Linked DNA regions of Homo sapiens: region 2 is linked to region 1. Evidence: promoter capture Hi-C in human tissues and cell types (Jung and others, 2019). All regions are on one chromosome and are shown on one strand. Each heading gives the region's core, a stretch centred on a gene start or on the middle of the fragment in contact. The rest is flanking DNA. Distances are from core to core; before and after follow the strand shown.

Region 1 (3,278 bases), core at 66-2,565:
GCTGACCTGCAGACATATGGGGTGGAGTGGGTACGTGTTTTGGGGGGACCAGGAGAGCCCCATCTAACAACACACACTCTGTCCCAACGGCCATAATCACTCCCTCTTCCAACCTCTGCTTCTGAAGGTTGGGCCCATCAGTACACTCCTACACATTCCTCTCTCCTTGACCTCCTCACAATCATCCTGCCCAGTGCAACTCACTCAGCTAGCTGCACACCCACACAGGTAAGCGTGCAAATGCACACACATCCACCATGCTTGTGGCCACAGTATTTCCTATGCACATCCCCAGGAATAGATGCCCATACACACAGGGTTCCCCACAAGCCCACTCCCACAGATATGTTTCAGTCACATTCACATAGACACACTTCTGCACACATTGTGGTGGACACACAAACCCAACCCCAGCACACTTACGCACATGCACACTTCATCAGACATAGTTACAGACACACACACAAAGACACTCCCATTTACACATGTGTTCATCTTAACATACATTGACCCATGAGCTCTCACATGCACACATGGGCACACATACAAACTACTGTTTACCAACACAGTTTGCTGGGATCCTGGGCTCGATTGAAAACACACACACACACACACACACACACACAGCTCTTGCAGCTGCAGTCTCTCACTGACCCCACCTGGGCTACCCCCTTCCAGCCTCCCAACCCCTGCCCCTACCTGGGGCTGAGCTGCAGGAAGGAGTGAGGCAGCTTGTGCTTACTCCTGAGGTGGGGGTGCATTCCCCCAACAGGGCAGGAACTCCAGACTGGCACTTGCTCCCCCCCCACACACACCTCCCCTCCTAGTTGCCATCATGCTCCTGGGCACTGCCTTGTCTCCCTGGACTGCCCATATCCTGTCACCAGTCCAACCCCCTCCTATGAGGGAGCTCACTGCCTTTGGTTGGGCACCAGCACTTTCCTATGACCCTGTCCCTCCCTTCTTCCAGGGTCCTCTACCCCAGCAAGAGCATCAGAGGCCCCTGCAGGCCGGGGTCCCAACTCTCTAGGAGGGCGGAGCATGAGGTGAGGGCTCACCTGGGCATGGCAGCAGCCAGCAGCAGTAGGAAGAACAGGAGCACCCAGAGCGCTGGCCGCGGCTGGGGCTGGGGTCGGAGCCGCAGCCAGGGGCGAGGGTGGGCGCTGCCCATGGCGCGCAGGCCCTGACGGGCTGGGAGTGGGGGGCTCACAGCCCAGTGGGACTGGAGAGCCAGGGGCGCCGGCGCATGATCGGCGGGGGGTCGGGGCGGCTGCGACACACAGCTCCGACTCGGGTCAGGGCTCCCGGAGCAGACGGCGCCCGCCTCCCCGCTCCATGGGGCAGCACCCCCGGGCACCGCCCTCGGGGGGGGCGGGGGGTGAAGAGCGGGCGAACCGGGCACCTCCTGGCACAGGGGTCCGGGGAATTTCCCGAGGCCCCCCCGCGACAACTCCCGGTGCCTCTCAAGGGTAAGGGGGGCCCGGAGGTGCAGCGGGCTGGGGACGGGAGGCTGGGGTGCCGGGGAACCCTCCAGCGCAGCGCCGGGAGCCTGCGCTTCCGAGGGCGTGCGAGGCTGGCTGGCGGGGGCGGCGCTGTCTGTGTCGGGCCCCACTGCCTGTAGAGTAAGTGACTGTCCCGGCTCGGGGAGCTCTGCCGCCTTCCCTTTCCTCCCCCCACCCCCCCGCCATTTAGTGTCTCAGGGCTCTACCCCACGTGACGTCACGCGGCGGGGCGTGGAGGCGTGTACGAGTCCCGAGGCCACTGCGTCCGCTGGGGACTGGGGGTGGGAGCGTCCCTGCTGAGGGCAACAGAGGGAAAGGTGTTGGGGTCTGTGCGCGCGTGCACAGGAAGATGCCTGTGTGTGGAGCGCGCTGGGTTGTGTGGGGGATATGTGTTACCGCGAGGTGTGTGTGCCTGGCAGAGACGCAGCTGCTGGGGAGCGCCCCCATCCCACCCCAACACACACACCTGCAGGGGCTGGAGGGGAGGGGCTGGCCTCTGTGTTTCGCCTCCTCCGCCAGAGGAGGGACTTCCCCCAGGCCTGCCTGGTGTGAGGCAGGTGTGGGCTCCTGCAGAGGAGTTTGGCAGCCTCTGGTTTCTTCTCCCCTTTGCTGTGTGACCTTAAACAGGTGCCTCCTGCTCCTGCTCACGGAGACCTCCTCTGCCCCTTTGCGGAATGCGGCTCATGGGGACCACCTTGTCTCCTCAGTGAGCCCGGGGAGGCAGCAGTGTCAGGCCCCCAGAAAATGCTTGCGTAGGAGCGCCCGGGGTGGCACGTCCTGGGAGGAGGCGTTAGAGAGACTTTTAACCCTAGAAGTGGCCGTTGAGATAGTTTATTTAGCTCCCCTTTATTTCACAAGAAAATATCGAGGCTCAAAGAGGTCACACAGCAAATTAGCGGAAGAGCGAGAACCGAACGCAGCTCTCCTGACTCCCAGCGCAGCAGCTGCCTCCCCAACACTGAGTGTTGCCTGCCTGTGCCCGCAGATACTCTCAGTCTTGTCCTGGCCCTCCCTGGCCCCACCTGCACATGGTCCTCTAGGAGGTCCCTAATACCAGCCTCCTGGCTCAGGTCTACTTCTCGCTGAGATCTTCCTGTCCCTCCACCCCAACTGAACACTGGGCCCCTCCTCGATATAGTGCAAGTGTGCTGGGCCCAAGCAAGGGCCTGAGAGCCAGAGGGCAGGGGAAAGGCAGCTCTGCCGTCTGTTTCTGGTGCTAGCCTGGGCCCTGATAGTGGATCGTGCTCCTGCCCTGTGCCCTCGGCATCCTCCTCTGTAAAATGGGCACAAGCCTTTACACAAACATGCCCCTCTCTCTGAAGAGAGCCCCTGCTGGCTTAGGAACAAAACTATGGGAGCCTCTGGGCTCAGAGACAAAAAAGGCCCATTCCTGGAATTGCCCATCCCTGGGGAACTGAAGGAGGGGGTGGGGCCCTCCTTGTCCCCAGACTGTCAGGTGGTGGGGGCGGCCTGAGCAACAGCAGGCTGACGGCATACTCCCCCCTCCTTTCCCCCTCATCTCTGCCGGCAGCCACCGCAGCTGTCAGGAATTAAGGGCTTGAGGCTGCTGGGGGTGGGGGTGGGGCAGTGGGGGGGGAGCAGTCTGGCTGGACTGCAGGAAAACAGCCAGGGGCAGCAAGCAGACTGCGTCAGCTAGAGCCTTATTTGACCCCAACTGCCCCCTGCCCTCCCCACTCTCCCTACCATGCTGCAGAAACGGGGACAGCTTGGGACTAGCATTTGGGAAGGGTAAGCGGTAAGGGTAAGGGTGGGACC
Region 2 (3,278 bases), core at 205-2,704, 630 kb after region 1:
GGACCTGAACCCTCATGATAGGCCAGGCAGGAGGAGCTGCTCTGAATGGGCCTGACTGAAGTCCACCCTGTGACACCAGCCACCTAAAGACCTGTGTGAGGCTGGGCGCGATGGCTCACGCCTGTAATCCCAGCACTTTGGGAGGCTGACGCAGGCTGATCATCTGAGATCAGGAGTTTTGAGACCAGCCTGGCCAACATGGTGAAACCCCATCTCTACTAAAAATATAAAAATTAGCCACATGTGATGGCGTGTGCCTGTAATCTCAGCTACTTAGGAGGCTGAGGCAGGAGAATCGCTTAAACCCGGGGGGTGGAGGTTGCAGTGAGCCAAGACGGTGCCACTGCACTCCAGCCTGAGTGACAGAGCAAGACTCCATCTCAAAAAAAGACCTGTGTGCTCATCACAAAGTCCTTTGCACTACAGCAGGCCTGCATGCCCCTCTTGCCCTGGTTTTCTGGAATCGTTTTTACCTGCTGCACCTCCTCTACTCACTATCTGCAAAACCCCGTCAGTTGTCTGAAGTTTTCGTTGAAATGAAAAGGAATGCCTCCTAAGGAAGTGTGGAATTTCTGTGTCAATGTGCCCTGGCCTGAAAGTAAATGAACACCACAACAGAAGACAACTATACTTCAAAGAATCTAAGGTGCTTATGACTGTAAGTCTGCCATAATTTTATGTACCACAAGAGAAACATGCTGCCAATTAAAGTGTGACATGCTATGAATTGTAAGATGCATCCCAGCTTCAAAGACAAAAACTTGAAAAAAATGGTATAGCTGGCTGGGCGCAGTGGCACACGCCTGTAATCCCAGCACTTTGGGAGGCTGAAGTGAGTGGATTGCTTGAGGCCAGGAGTTGAGATCAGCCTGGCCAACATGGAAACCCTGTTTCTTTTTTTTTTTTTTAATTTTTTTTGAGACGGAGTCTTGTTCTGTCGCCCAGGCTGGAGTGCAGTCGCGTGATCTTGGCCTATTGCAAGCTCCGCCTCCCAGGTTCACGCCATTCTCCTGCCTCAGCCTTCAGGGTAGCTGGGACTACAGGCACCCACCACCACGCCCAGCTAAGTTTTTGTATTTTTTGTAGAGATGGGGTTTCACTGTGTTAGCCAGGATGGTCTCGATCTCCTGACATCGTGATCCACTTGCCTCGGCCTCCCAAAGTGCTGGGATTACAGGCGTGAGCCACCGTGCCCAGCTGGAAACCCTGTTTCTACTGAAAATACAAAAATTAGCCGGGTGTGGTGGCACACGCCTGTGGTCCCAGCTACCTGGGAAGCTGAGGCACGAGAATTGTTTGAGCCTGGGAAGCAGAGGTTGCAGTGAGCCGAGATCACACCACTGCACTCCAGCCTGGGTGACAGAGAGAAAGAAAAAAGAAAAAAGTGTATAGTTTAGATTTAATGAAATTTGGTAAATCAACAGATTCATCACCAATAAACAGGTTCACCTTTACCACTGAGGTGAATTAAATTACATTTCACAAAGGAGACATTCCAGTGGCATTGGGTGCAGTGTGAACAAGCTTATTAATTCCAAACTGTAAGCTATCATAATCAGCCAGTGCATGAGGCTGGAGCAACTGAAGGAAGACCTGAATTTATTCCGCGAAAAAGTGGAGTAAGTGGATCACGGCTGGAGCTTGGGCTTAATAAGCAAAAAACCAAGAATTGCCAAATGACAGAGAACCCCCATCTAGCTGCTTAGGTGGTTCTCTTCTTAACTCCTTTTTTTGGTGAGATAGGGTCTCACTCTGCCACCCAGGCTGGAGTGTAGTGGTGCCATCACAGCTCACTGCAGCCTCTACCTCCTGGGTTCAAGTGATCCTCTCACCTCAGCCTCTCAAGTAGCTATGACTACAGTCATGCACCACCATGCCTAGTTATCTTTTTTTTTGAGACAGTCTCCCAGGCTGGAGCGCAGCAGGATGATCTCGGCTTGCTGCAACCTCCACTTTCTGGGTTTAAGCAATTGCCATGCCTCGCTTGCCCGAGTAGCTGGGACTATAGACTATAGGCACATGTCACCATGTCCAACTAATTTTTGTATTTTTAGTAGAGGTGTGGTTTCACCATGTTGGCCAGGTTGGTCTCGAACTTCTGACCTCAAGTGATCTGCTCGCCTTGGCCTCTTAAAGTGCTGGGATTACAGGTGTGAGCCACTGTGCCTGGCCCCTTGCTTTTTGTAGAGATGAGCCTGCACCATGTTATCCAGGCTGGTCCCAAACTCCTGGACCCAAGTGACCCACCAACCTCGGACTCCCAAAGTGCTGGGATTACAGGTATGAGCCACTGTGCCCCGCCTATCCTTTACTCTTTTCTTTTTTCTTTTTGAGACAAGGTCTCACTCTGTCATCCAGGCTGGAGTGCAATGGTGTGATCTCAGCTCACTGCAACCTCCGCCTCCTGGGTCCAAGGGATTCTTGTGCCTCAGCCTCCCGAGTAGCTGGGATTACAGGCGCACACCACCACGCCCAGCTAATTTCTTTGTTATTTTTTTGGTAGAGACGGAGTGTTTCACCATGTTGGTCAGGCTGGTCTCGAACTCCTGACCTCAGGTGATCTGCCCATGTTGGCCTCCCACAGTGCTAGGATTACAGGCGTGAGACACCGCACCCAGCCTCAACTCTTTTTTTTTTTTTTTGGAGACAAGAGTCTTGTTCTGTTGCCCAGGCTGGAGTCCAGTGGCACGATCTCAGCTCATTACAACCTCCACCTCCCGGGTTCAAGCAATTCTCCTGCCTCAGCCTCTGGAGTACCTGGGACTACAGACGTGCGCCACCATGCCCAGCTAATTTTTTTTTGTATTTTAGTAGAGACAGAGTTTCACCACATTGGCCAGGATGATCTTGATCTCCTGACCTCGTGATCCACCTGCCTTAACCTCCCAAAGTGCTGTGATTACAGCCATGAACCACCGTGCCCAGCCAAAACTGTACTTGTCTCCTTCAAGCTGGAATCGAACCAGCAACCTAAGGACGTCTCCTACTGAGGAAGTAGCTATAGTCCTCTGCTCTACCAGCTGAACTATTGAAGGGACCTTAACTCTTGATATCAGAATTCAGTCTTATTTTTAAGATTTAAGAAAAATGGGGAAAAAAAGGAAAGGATTACTGTACAAAAATAGCATATGGCCTGCTCTGTAATTAATACCCTGTGACATCCCTCCTTTAGTCACTGCAATGGCAACAGGAACAAGTTGGTATGCCTGCGTTTGCCTACCTTAAAATGTTAACCAAGGTTCTGTGCAGATTTAGGTATTCTGCTGTGTGAACTCATT

The links. Contacts are between HindIII fragments. The study calls those that stand out against the background at their distance.
Region 2: a fragment that was not itself captured here is called in contact with the fragment with the promoter of WNT10A in region 1 in 1 of the 25 tissues and cell types used here (spleen).

What each region holds. Positions count from the first base shown.
Region 1 is chr2:218,878,889-218,882,166 of GRCh38, reverse strand. WNT10A (Wnt family member 10A) reads right to left here and starts at 1,315. Exons shown (of 4, transcript NM_025216.3): 1 at 1,059-1,315; 2 at 1-6. The coding sequence starts at 1,171. RefSeq lists silencers at 1,240-1,379, 1,400-1,609, 1,830-1,889. The HindIII fragment of the contact is 13,021 bases long and covers 1-3,278 here.
Region 2 is chr2:218,245,583-218,248,860 of GRCh38, reverse strand. All of the region lies in intron 8 of ARPC2 (actin related protein 2/3 complex subunit 2), which reads right to left. TRY-ATA1-1 (tRNA-Tyr (anticodon ATA) 1-1) reads right to left here and starts at 3,035; the gene lies at 2,943-3,035. The HindIII fragment of the contact is 7,344 bases long and covers 1-3,278 here.